Regions from separate parts of the Homo sapiens genome. Here region 2 is linked to region 1. Evidence: promoter capture Hi-C in 16 types of primary human blood cells and fetal thymus (Javierre and others, 2016). All regions are on one chromosome and are shown on one strand. Each heading gives the region's core, a stretch centred on a gene start or on the middle of the fragment in contact. The rest is flanking DNA. Distances are from core to core; before and after follow the strand shown.

The links. Contacts are between HindIII fragments. The CHiCAGO score rates a contact against its expected background, and 5 or more counts as called.
Region 2: a contact is called between a fragment that was not itself captured here and the fragment with the promoter of GNG12-AS1 in region 1, in 2 of 17 cell types (endothelial precursors and megakaryocytes). The highest score is 7.6, in endothelial precursors.

The regions. Positions count from the first base shown.
Region 1 is chr1:67,827,072-67,833,566 of GRCh38, forward strand. GNG12-AS1 (GNG12, DIRAS3 and WLS antisense RNA 1) reads left to right here and starts at 5,217. Exons shown (of 10, transcript NR_040077.1): 1 at 5,217-5,365. GNG12 (G protein subunit gamma 12) reads right to left here and starts at 6,396. Exons shown (of 4, transcript NM_018841.6): 1 at 6,273-6,396. The HindIII fragment of the contact is 10,966 bases long and covers 4,101-6,495 here.
Region 2 is chr1:68,317,147-68,323,544 of GRCh38, forward strand. No RefSeq gene overlaps it. Among named protein-coding and RNA genes, the nearest start is that of WLS, 88 kb to the left of the region's middle. The HindIII fragment of the contact is 3,155 bases long and covers 2,239-5,393 here.

The sequences.
Region 1 (6,495 bases), core at 3,967-6,466:
CACACAATGCAAGTGCAGAGATGGCAACTGATTCAGACTTCACTCCAGTGAGCATGTGTGATCACGCAAACTCAAGTTCAACCAGAGCTTATACTTCTCTCTTCGGTCAACTAAAGGGGATCCTATGTCAATTACATGACCTTGCCTGCAAGGGGAGTGGTGGCCTACTGTGTCAGAAAGCATACAGAATACAAAGCCTTCTGACTCTCTGGGCCCAAAGTCACCCACTTATTATACAATCAATGAAACTGAAAATTACAGAAGATTTTAGCAACCAATCTCTTAGAACTTCTAGATACTAACCCTCTGGCAGAACTGAAAGTATTAATTCTTAACAGTCTCCAACACTCCAGTTTTTTTTTTTATTTTTTTAAGATGGCATCTTGCTCTGTTGCCCAGGCTTGAGTACAGTGGCACGATCTCGGCTCACTGCAAGCTCTGCCTCCCAGGTTCACGCCATTTTCCTGCCTCAGCCTTCCAAGTAGCTGGGACTACAGGCGACCGCCACCACGCCCGGCTAATTTTTTGTATTTTTAGTAGAGACGGGGTTTCATCATGTTAGCCAGGATGGTCTCGCTCTCCTGACCTTGTGATCCACCCGCCTCGGCCTCCCAAAGTGCTGGGATTACAGGCGTGAGCGACTGCACCCAGCCAACACTCCAGTTTTTATTATACAGTAATTCTCTGAAATGCAGACCCATTAAAAGAAGACAAAAACCCTCCTTGTCACAGGATGGTAACCAGACACTTCACAACTGAGCACTTTTACGACACCCAATAAAGACTAACATGATAAACCAAACACTTAAGTGACATCAGATATGATTTTCAAGAGAGACTCTCCAATAAATGGAATAATCTAGCTACAAGTTATCTTAAGTCAAGTCACCTCCACCATCTGCCCTGGATCCATGCTACCTGTTAACTACTCTCCTGTCATTCCTAAGGGAGGAAAGTGGGGAGGTCAGGATCTGTGGGTATGTGCTGGTTCTAGAACAGGATTTAGCGAGTCAGTTCCTTCATCTGTACTATCCAGACCCCCTTTGGAAGTCCAGGGATGAAAGAGGTAGGCTTCACAGGGTCACCAAGGACTGGGCCTTTGTGTGCGCTTCAGGCCTGCTGGGTCTCAGCAGCCATTTGGAAGTGTTAACTGCTATGGCTAAAGAGTGGCAAGCCTGATGGAGAGGCACTGATGATTCTCCTCAGGAAGGTCACCTAAAAGGAGTCTCCTCCTCATGTTTCTCTTGATTAGTTTTATAGTTTTTAAGCAAAACTGACTCCATAAAGCCCACTTCACTCTCACCTCTGGCTGGATGCACCTCCATCTCCGTGCAGAGGGCATGAGATGTGGAGTTAAGATGCTTCTGGGTCAAATTCTGTCCTTGCAACTTGAGCAAGGTTCAGACCTTTAAGGAACCTCAGCTTCCTCCTCTGGGCTGTTGTGACAACTGAGCAAGACTGTATACGGGAAGAGTTTAGAAAGGGCTCAGGATATATAATATATACAATTGTGCTGTAATTAGTTTTTATCTATCCAACCTTCCTGTTAAACTAAGTGCACCAATATCTGCCTCATTACTGTCTTCCAGGTGTCTGATATACTGAAGGTGCTGTAAAAACGCAGCTCATCAAGGCAGGCCTGGATCTGGGAAGTCACAACTTCCATAAAGTCAAGGTTGGTGGACTAGGTCTATATGCAGATCCTAAAAACCCACTGGTAGACTTTTCAAATATTCTTCATGAAGATCAAACTACAAGCTTCTGAAAGGCCTTCTCTTTTACCGCTAAACAATTCTCACTGCAAAGGTTTTGACATTTAACCGAAGGACATTCAACTGCCATAAAGTTGGTGCTTTTTCCAAAACAACAATAAAATCCTGCTATTTGTAGTTAACAAGCCAGATTTGTTTTTTAGTAACTATTACGCAAATTTTTTTTAGTATTTGTAGTTAATAAACCAGATTTGTTTAGTAACTATTACACAAATGAATTATATTTTAGTATATATATAGGCGCATTGTGGAAAATAGGGGAAAAGCAGGTTGGGGGTGGGAGAGCACCATAATCCCATCACCAATTTGTCTGTATTTTCTTCTAGGCTTTTCTTATGGTTTAAAAATAATTTTTAAGCTAGCTGTAATTGTAATAACACAATGTAACTGTGCATACTGCTTTTCCCCATTTTAAACTGTAACAGACTTCATGTATTACTGATTTTTTAAAGTCTCTAATAAAAAAGAAAATGGAATTGAGATTTGGAAGAATTAACTTGTTTAACAAATTAATATTGCAAACCATTTCACATTTAAAAGACAAAATGATGATTGTCTAATTCTCTTACTTTTTAAGTACTATTTGGCAGGACTATTTAAATTACTGAGCTTTTTTTAGATTTGGGGGAAATATTAAAATTTTGTATAGCTGTTTTCCTGTTACAAAAATAATGCATGCTCATTATACAACATTTAGAGAAAATTTCAATAATTTAATGTTAACATTTATTGAATGTGGACTATGCACCAGGCACTATTCCAAATGCTATATACATAGATTAGCTCATTTATTCCTCACAACACTTATTGAAGCATAGATTAAGTAACTTGCTCACAGTCTACTCACCTAGAAGTATGAGCCAGAAATCATTATGTTATGTTCTAGGAGTGAAACGAATCAATAATTTACTCAATCAAATGCTTCAGTTGTTTCAGAGCATAATGTCATAGGCAAGAAACAATTAATAATCACACTGTACCCTTTATAGTTATTTAAAATTATTATAAACCACATCTCTGTGTCCCAGTGGAGCAATTAGTAAAATGAGAAATCATCTGTGGCATGAGCTAAGATCCTGGTTCAGCCCAATTCTGTGCACCTGACGTGCATTAGGACAAAAACAAGAAGCTTTAAAGGGTTTGTTTTAAAGATGGAGGCTTTTTTTTTTTTTTTTTTTGAGACAGAGTTTTTGCTCTTGTTGCCCAGGCTGGAGTGCAATGGCACGATCTCGATTCACCGCAACCTCCGCCTCCTGGGTTCAAGTGATTCTCCTGCCTCAGCATCCCGAGTAGCTGGGACTTCAGGCATGCGCCATCACGCCTGGTTTATTTTGTATTTTTAGTAGAGATGGGGTTTCTCCATGTGGGTCAGGCTGGTCTTGAACTCCCGACCTCAGGTGATCCGCCCACCTTGGCCTCCCAAAGTGCTGGGATTATAGGTGTGAGCCACAGCGCCTGGCAAGATGAAGGCATTTAAAAAATTTTTTAGATTTTAGGAAATGAGTCAACAATGTGATGAGTAGATTTCCTGAATTAACTGAACACCCAATCTCATGAAAGTTTACAAATAAAACAACGACTCACAATCAGCCTAACACTTCTTATGGCTTATCTGTTGGCCTTGGACATCAGCACATGCAAAAGTAAATAACCGGATACCCTTGGGTCACATGTTTTCATACTTTGATTAAGAATTACACTTGGTTAAAGATGAATACTTCTGTTCCTGGCTTAATTTCTTACCTAGGGCTAATAAACACAACTATTTGAAATATAAATTCTCTTTAAATGTAAAGGATAATGCAATGTTTCTGACTGTCAAAATTACTATGCAACTGTAACTTTAGCACTAAAAGCATATTAAAACTATTAATCCTTTAATCATAATTATTCATATTGCTGTGGTAGAAACATCACACATACACACACACAAACACACACACACCAGTTACTTTCTGTAGAATTTGAAATTGCTCTATCTAGCATTTCCGGAAGGTTCAAGCTGCCACCCTGCAATTTATCCAGTAGCCTGCTGCTTGAACAAGCTAGATAAATATCTAATAATTTTGACCATGTACTGCGTGTTAAGTCCAGTTTAAGTGTTTTCCAAAGACAAAGTTTTCATATACTTTCTGTAAAGCCCTACAGATAGAGACCATTATTATCCCCATCTTATAAATCAGACTGAAAAAGGTTAAATAGCTAATATTTTCATCTAAGTCTGTCTGACTCCAAAGCCAACACCCCAAATCACTGTTAAACAAGCTTCTCTTCCAAGTTAGGGCTCAGAAAAATTTACTTGCTTTCACAACTTGCCTTCCTAGGTTAAGCTTAAGCTGACATAAAACTCCAAAACAAAGCAAAACACAATAAATCACATAATTCTAATTTTAAAAAAAACTAATTTGATATTGGCTAACCACTTCCTCAAGTTTTCTGACCATGAAGCCCTTTGCTCTCACACTTTAATAAACCACCGATATTCTCTAACAAGTGACAACACAAATCCACAAATCTAATTGTTAGAGAGCTTTCAAGTAAGACTGGAGCTTTCTGGACAGGAAATTTTTATAATTCTATTTTTTTCAGGCTCTTGTGAAACACAGATTCACATTTTCATATATTTCTACACAAATCTAAGTGCTGTGTGCCCTGTTGGGGGTTCGATATCTAGTAAATTACATGAGTTAAATACAGCAAAAATAGGACTGCATTATTTATAAGGTCTAACGACGCAGTAGACTTTTCAGCATTTTTTGGACTTAAACCAGGGCTTTACGGCGCTGGTTAACTATTAGAGAAGGCAAAGGGACTGAACATTTTATCTGAAAGTCCTTTTATCACTTAAGACTCTGTAAAATTTTTGATTACTTTAAAAATTGTGTGTGTGAATAACGTTAGTTTACTAGAAAAGGGGCTTGCTAGTATATATAATTTGGTTAAAAAAACAAAAACAAAACAAAACAGCTCCTTACTTGAATGTGATTGTTTTGGCAATAGTAAAATTCAATCCCGTCGTTCTAGCGCTGCCTGCCTTCCTGGTTCTCCTAGGTGAGGGCCGCCATCCTGCGATAATTTACTTCGAGAGCTGCGAAGCGCTGGCAAGGGTGCAGTCTGGTGACTAGCACTTTTAAAAACAAAGCCAAACTCCGCTTTTAAAATAGAGAAGGCACAGACGCAGACCCTGCCTCTGACGACATCCAAAAGATTCATTATACACAGCCTATTCAGGCGAAGCTACAACCGCCCCAGGAAATATAAACTGTGTCGGCAAAGACAGCAGGGGGGAGAGGAAGTAACTGATGGGAAGGAAGCTAATCATGTGAAGTTTGTCCAACTCCACACGGTCTAATAAATTCCCGTTTGTTTCCGCTGGGAGCAGCCATTAAACGCGCCCTGACACGTGGGCGCAGGAACCTCCCTTCTACCTCTGGTGTTCAGAGATTTCCTTCTCGACCCACTTGTTTGTATACAACCACGCCCGGCAGGATGACCACCAGATGACCGGCCGCAGCAATGCCTCCACTCAGTCCCAGTTGGGCAAAGTTTCACTCCACTGCGGCGACGTGAACAAGAATCACGGCTTCCTTATCGTGAGTTATGAATGATTTAAGCCAAGTTTACAGGACACACAAAGCGAGGGACGAGTGAGTGACGGGAGGTGCTAAGTGACAGCGTTTTAAAGTTAGCTTTAATTGATATGCCCTAATTAAAATGAAAAACAGAATTCACCCTGCCCCACGGGATAACTGTCGGGGCAATAATTAAAAAAAAAAAAATCACCCAAGACTAAGCCTCAACCTCCCCCTTACCACTTGCAAATACAGTCTGCAGAAAAGCAGCCTCGGGTCCCCACTCGGGGGTCCCTCGCGGGGTGCGTCATATGGGCTCTCCCCTCTGCGACCCGCTATTTCCCTGCTAGACCCCCAGCGCCCAGCGGATTCCAAGGCTGCGCTCCCGCCGGCTGGTCCCGGGAGGTAGAAAGTAGGCAGAGGGGCGTGGCGTCCCTGTCGCCCCCACATGCCAGCCCTCCTCCAACGCCTGACACCACCACAAGCCACGGCTGGGAACACTGGGGGCCTCCCAACCCGGCGCGGGGCGCACGGCCGCAGGCTGGCGAGGAGGCAAGCGAGCTCAAGGGGAGACCTTTCCTTCCACCCCCAGCCCTAGCCCCAGCCACAGCCGTGGGGGCGGCTTCCCGCAACCTCGGGCGGCCGCCCGTCGAGGGCGCGCGCGCCGTTTCTGCCTCTGGGTCTCGGTGTCCCTTGGCCCCTTCCTCCCCCTCCCCCCGGTCTCCGGCGCCCAGCGCCCAGACCAGTCCCCGCCCTCCAGCAGGACACTCTTCCCTCCTTCCTTCCTTCCTCCGCTCCCTCCCTCCATCTCGCTTCCCAGCACCCGGGACTCGGAGGCGGCCCCCGAACTCGCTGGCCGACGCCCCGCGCCGCGCCCCGACCCCGCGGGGACCCGACTCACCACCCGCGCCCGCCGCTTGGTACTCACCCGCCTGCCGGTGCGCTGCCCCGCCGTCGCCGCCGGGACTCGGTCTCTAAGGGCTCCTGGAGACGGCTCCGACCTCTCCTCCTCCTCCTCCTCTTGCTCCTCCGGGCGCCGGCTCCGCCTCGCTGGGGTGGGCGGGGCGGCGGCGGCCCCGGGCTCCTTCCTCCGCGCCGGGCCCTGCCTCCCGCCCGGACGCCCTGGCTGTGCTGTCCCGGGCCGGGGAGCC
Region 2 (6,398 bases), core at 2,566-5,065, 490 kb after region 1:
AGCTAAGCTGCATTTATTAGAGAGGAAATTTGGATAATAGAGTATTAGGGAAACCGAGGAAGAACTTGGGTAGGAAGAGGAGAAAGTGAAGTGCTGTAGAGAGGTGCTGGAAGTGCAGCAAGTGCATTGGCAAAACTAGGGTGACCTGTGTATAATGACAGACAGAATAGGGTATTAGAAAGTAGTGTCACAAGATTCACAGGGCTGCATGCTGCAAGATGCCCATCACAAATGTGGCACTTCGCAGACTAACCATTTTGTGAGATTGCCTTCCTTCAAGATCGAATTAGATGCTCATTTTAACCCAATTTCACCTGGATAAAACTCTAAAAGGTCGGAATAGGCTAGTGCCTCAAATTCAGTATTTTAACGTAATAAACGTCTTTTTCTCTCTCATGGCAATCCAGTAAAGGCCTGCAGAAGGATTCTGCTCCATGTGGTCATTCGGGAGCCCAGGCTCCTTTTGTCTTGTGTCTCTGCTCTTCTCTCCATTTTTCAAATTCTGTCCACTTAGCTAGTGGGTAGGAAAGGAGAACCAGGACTGCATGAAGGACATTTTTAACATTTCAGGCATAGATGTGGCACATGCCATGTAGGTTCATATTCCATTGGCTGAAATTCAGACACATGGTCTCAACTAATTGCAAGATGTGCTCCAGCCATGTGCCCAGAAGAAAAGCAGAACACTGGTATTTGTAAACACCAATAATCTCTACAACAGATGTCCTTGTCCTGTGTGTTGATGCTTTGCGAACCAGACTCCTTTGTTGAACACTGAGCCTAACTCCAATTTATTTTCTAAGTGAATTTAATTGTTTTTATTACAGTAAATGCTCATGGAAAGAATTTAAACTGGAGTCAAACATGAATATTTTCTAACATTATTGAATGGAAATAAAGCATCATACAAAGATATAAACAAAGTTTTCAAATTTCAATATGTTAGGGGAGGACAAAAGAATCTTACAAATCATTTAATTCAGTCTTCTAATTTTGCAGTTAACTAAACTGGACCAACAGCCCACATCTACGTAGATAATTAGTAAGAGAGCCAGGGTTTAAACCTAACTGGTGTCATGTCAGGCTTTAAACTACAAACAAGAATTTAACACATCAAGACAAAAAGTCTTCATGTTATACTTTTAAAAGGCACAGAACAATTAAACAGTTTAGAAATCTAATATGTCTTTAAATTACACGGATGCATTAAGGAACCTCATTTTTAAAAATTATTATTATTATTTTTGGAGGCAGAGTCTCGCTCTGTCACCCAGGCTGGAGTGCAGTGGCACTATCTTGGCTCACTGAAACCTCCACCTCCTGGGTTCAAGCGATTCTCCTGCTTCAGCCTCCTGAGTAGCTGGGATTATAGGTGCCTGCCACCATACCCAACTAATTTTTGTATATTTAGTAGAGACAGGGTTTCACCATGTTGGCCAGGCTGGTCTCAAACTCCTGATCTCAAGTGATCCACCTGCCTCGGCCTCCCAAAGTGCTGGGATTACAGGTGTGAGCCACCATGCCCAGCCAATCTCTTTTTTTTTTTTTGAGACAGAGTTTCACTCTTGTTGCCCAGGCTGGAGTGCAATGACGTGATCTCGGCTCACTGCCACCGCTGCCTCCTGGGTTCAAGTGATTCTCCTGCCTCAGCCTGCCTAGTAGCTGGGATTACAGGCATGCACCACCACACACACCCAGCTAATTTTGTATTTTTAGTAGAGACGGGGTTTCACCATGTTGGTCAAGCTGGTCTCGAACTCCCGACCTCAGGTGATCCACCCGCCTCGGCCTCCCAAAATGCTGGGATTACAGGTGTGAGCCACCATGCCCAGCTGCCAATCTCATTTATTTTTAACAGACATTTGCATTTTTAGTTGATGAGATGATAACAAGCGTCTACCAGAGAAGTGCCTGCTGTCCATGGGTTAATGAATTGGATTATTACAGCAGTGGAGGTGGGTCTCTTTCTTTAGGAAATAGTTGATCAATTTTCTTTGGCTTTCATAATCTTAAATTTAGATCAAGTCAGAGAAATGACAATATATAGCCTTTTGCTTTTAGGATAACAGTATTTTTCAATACACATAGACTTGTTTTGCAATAAATATTCTTTTTTTCTGATCTAAGTGCCACCATTTATCTCCTGTTCTTCTTTATATTTTGTATACACAAAGCCTAAATTGGGTTTGATAGTAGGAATTAAGGAGTTCCATATGAATGGATTTTCCAGACAAAGGAAGCTTACCTACATTATTGAAATTTAACAATTTTAGAAGGAAATCTTTCTAGGCTGTATCACCTACTTATCCATCACCTTTAAAAGAGTCTTGATATCTTCCCTTTAATAGAGAGCTGAGAACAGAGATTTGAAGCCAGACCGCTTTTGTTTAAGACCTGGTTCTGACTCTTACCAGCTGTGTGACCTCAGGCACGTTACTGTCTTGGTTTCCTCATTTGTAAAATAAGAATATTAGTATATTCTTCTTAAAGTAGTTGTGAAGATTGAAAGATAATATATATAAGGCACTTAAGACAGTGTCTGGTATATAATAATTACTAAGTATATATTAGCTCAAGGAGTCACAGTCTACAATGTGAGAGGGGGGTTGGCAGAAGTAAGATATTAATTAATGGAATATACAAGTGCATTTACCAACTTGTGATAAGTGATAGAAAAGGAAAGTACTAAGTGCTATTAGAGTGTTAACAGGGGAACCAGATTTAGCCTGGCATTGTGTTATAGAATTCTTTACATTTTAGTTTTTCCTACTGATGTGTGAATTTTTTGAAAGCAAGAAGCATGTCTTAATCTTCCTTATGTAACTGTCAGTAAGCACAGTCTCTGGCGCATAGCAGGGGCTCGAGACTACTTTGGAAGGAGAGATTAAAGGAAAGAAAGAAAAAATTCTACAGGCATCACCCGGAGAATATAAAGATATTCCAGGCAAGTATTCTGCAGGGGGTAGAGAATTATGCTCCTTGGTGACCCTGCCACCTGCAGAGGTGCAGTACCTCCCGCACAGGGGTCAGCATCCCAGTGATTCCTGGCATCTGCAGCTTAATGAGGATGTATCCATTTATGCATTAAGGTTCATTTCCCTTGTTCAAAGCAGTCCCTCAGGTCTTCCCGGAGGACTGGTTTGCTTATTTTATACAGGATTCTTAGAATACTGCTGACATGTTTGATAATCAGAGAGTCTTGGGAAGGGGGTTGCTTATCTTGGGGAAAGTCAGCGAGCTATGTTTGAAGGCAGGTTTTCTTCCTCTCTTGAGAGAGTTGAGCAGTTTGAAAATAGGCTGCCTTCAGCCTTGCTTGGAATCTGGAGTGAAAGAGAAATACAGGGATGCAGCACTGAAGGAGCCCTGCTGTTCTCCTGGCCTGAGGGCTGAATTGATTCCACAGGTAACCTAGCATGAGCCTTCCACTTCATATGGGAGAAAAGGGAGGAGCAGATGGCCAGGTGCCTTGCCCCAGGTCACACAGTGGCAAAGCCTGAAGCCCTCAGACTTGCACGCTCCCAGCTGACACCCTATACAACACATGGGGAATGGGAAATTGGAATCGACTTTAAAAAAAAAAATCTATGAATCAAAAGCCGGGTTTGTTGGGGCATACCTGTAGTCCTAGCTACTCAGGAGGCTGAGCTGGAGGATCACTTGAGCCCAGGAGTTCAAAGCTAGCCTGGGCAATATAATGAGACCCTATCTCTAAAATAATAATAATAATAATAAAATCTATGAATAAGTTAGGAAAGACAAGGAAGAGACTGACTTGTGCGAACCTCCAATTTTAAATTGTGTTAGCTTAGAAGAAAGACTATTTTTTAAAAATGTAATCAAAATAGTTGATGAGAACAACAGTAATACCAGAAAACACTTATATGTTATTTGTTATTTGCTTGGCATCATTCTGAGAGTTTTATATGTATAAATTCATTTAACTTCCATAACACTTCCTGGCCTAGATTTTATTAATTTTACACGTGAGGAAAACTGAGACATGGGAGCTTAAGCAACTTGCCCAAGGTCACACATTTAGTCGGTTGGAGAGTTAGAATGAAGATTTAGTTAAATATTTGCAGGAGCTGCGGAGTGTGCTGGCTAGCTGTCTTGCTGCTGCCACGGCTCTGCCCTCTGGCGGCTCACCCTGGCCCATGGATGAGGATGTCTGGCTAAGCCCAGGGCTTAATGGCCCTCTCCTGCTTTACAGAAGAACCCTGGAGTCGGGGCTCCTTGACATAAAACTGGTTTGTGTCCATAGGTTTATGACATTACTTTTTTATGTTGTCAGTGGGGCAGTGTCCTGGTAATTGCTGTCATTGTTCTATATTTGTCCCTGTATAGTCACTGGCTGAGAGCTTTCTTAAACTGAAACTCTAGAGCACTGAAGGATTTTAGATTTTTCTAGATACAAAATAGAATTTCAGGGGCATAGTGAATTTTGGGATCTGTCTTCAGCTTTCTTTATATCAGTGGAAATCCACCCCAGATATTAGAAATAAGGACCAGAAAAAAATTAATTAACTGTGATGGAGGAATCTAGTCATTGGACCAATTTGCTTTAAGAAACAAAAGAATTATGAAAAACTCAGAAATTTTTTTTTTTTTTTTTTTAGACAGGGTCTTTGTCACCTGGGCTGGAATGCAGTGGTGCAATCATGGCTGACTGAAGCCTCTACCTCCCCTGGCTCAGAGGATCCTCTCACCTCAGCCTCCTGAGTAGCTGGGACCACAGGCACGCACTACCACACCCAGCTAATTTTTAAGAAATATTTTTGCTGGGCATGGTGGCTCATGCCTGCAATCCCAGCACTTTGGGAGGCCGAGGTGGGCGGATCACCTGAGGTCGGGAGTTTGAGACCAGCCTGACCAACATGGAGAAACCTCATCTCTGCTAAAAATACAAAATCAGCCAGGCATGGTGGCACATGCTGAGGCTGGAGGCTGAGGCAGGAGAACCACTTGAACCTGGGAGGTGGAGGTTGCAGTGAGCCAAGATCGCGCCATTGCACTCCAGCCTGGGCAATAAGAGCGAAACTCTGTCTCAAAACAAAAAACAAACAACAACAACAAAAAAAAGCCAACATATTTTCGTAGAGATTACAGGCATGATCCACCACAACTGACTCAGAATTGTTTACAAGCCCTCAAGTTTGGAAAATCATCTGCAGATGTTAAGATATGTCCAGATAAGAAAACATCCAAATTGAACTGAGAGCACAAGGAACTACCCTGGACAGAATAAAAGTGAAAACTAGGTGAAAAAAAAATTAAAGAAAGGCAAGGGCATTACTGAATACTTACTATGTGCTAATCTTTGCCAAGGTACACTTCTCTGTCCCTTTAATGTGGTCCCATTCTCACTCGTTTCCCATTCTCAGATCTCACCTCAAAGCTTTGCTAAGAGAAGCAGTTAGGATCAACAAGAGAGTCTTGTTTCATTTCAGGAGCTCCACTAAGAAGGCTCCTGGAGTCGAACTTGTCCCAGGCTCAGAGGAAAGGGACGGTCAGACTCTATCCTTAACTAGGACCCAGGGGAGAAGACAGAAAAGAAAAAGAAAGTATGGAGGAAACAGAGAAGGTAAATTCTGTGTGGACTCAAAGGCAGCCTGTTGAGAACAGCAGCTGAACTGTTTTTAGCATCCTCTGGATTCCAAATGTGTCTGTGACCCAGCTACAAGAAAACTGGGCTCTTCCTGGTAATGGTTGATATCTGTATGCCCTTCCAGATCTCCGCTGCATAAAGGCAAAACTCCATCTAGTCCAACTGTCAGGATAGCCCTCTGTGCTAATTACACAAATAAGCAGGCTGAGATCTAGATAGCTTACCAAAACTCAAACAGCTAGTATAAGGCAGAATGAGGCCTAAAACCCAGGTCTGGTGTTTTGAAACCAAAACACTTTTCATTACTTCAGGTGCTGGTTAAATATCCAGCCCAGCACACAAATGCCCTCGTGAGTTAGGATACTTGTGTGTGTGTCTGAGTTCTCCATCCCTTTTCTGCCCCTCAGTTCCTCCTCCCAGGGGCACAGAGCCCTGATGTTGCCCTGGAGAAGGCCTTGCAACATCTGGAAGTCCAGGGAGAGTGAAGTGACTGCTGTGCCAGGTTGAGTCAGTGGAGGAACGCAGGCGTGTCAGCGGGTTCCCAGGGGCGCTTTTCATCACCGAGGCACTCAGTAACAGGCTATCAATACCATTCCGAAATAGAAAGCATCAAACGGCCCAGGCTGTGGCTTTGAGTCGCCACCGAGGTGGCCAGCACAGGAAGCATTAGCACGTCTTGCTTTTCTAGGAATAAAAGAACCGCAACTGTGTCCTTGAGTGTGTTAAACAATGTTAACTAGAGGGAAGGGTCAGGAGAGAGGTATGTGTGGTGGTTTATGGGCAGGAGATGAGA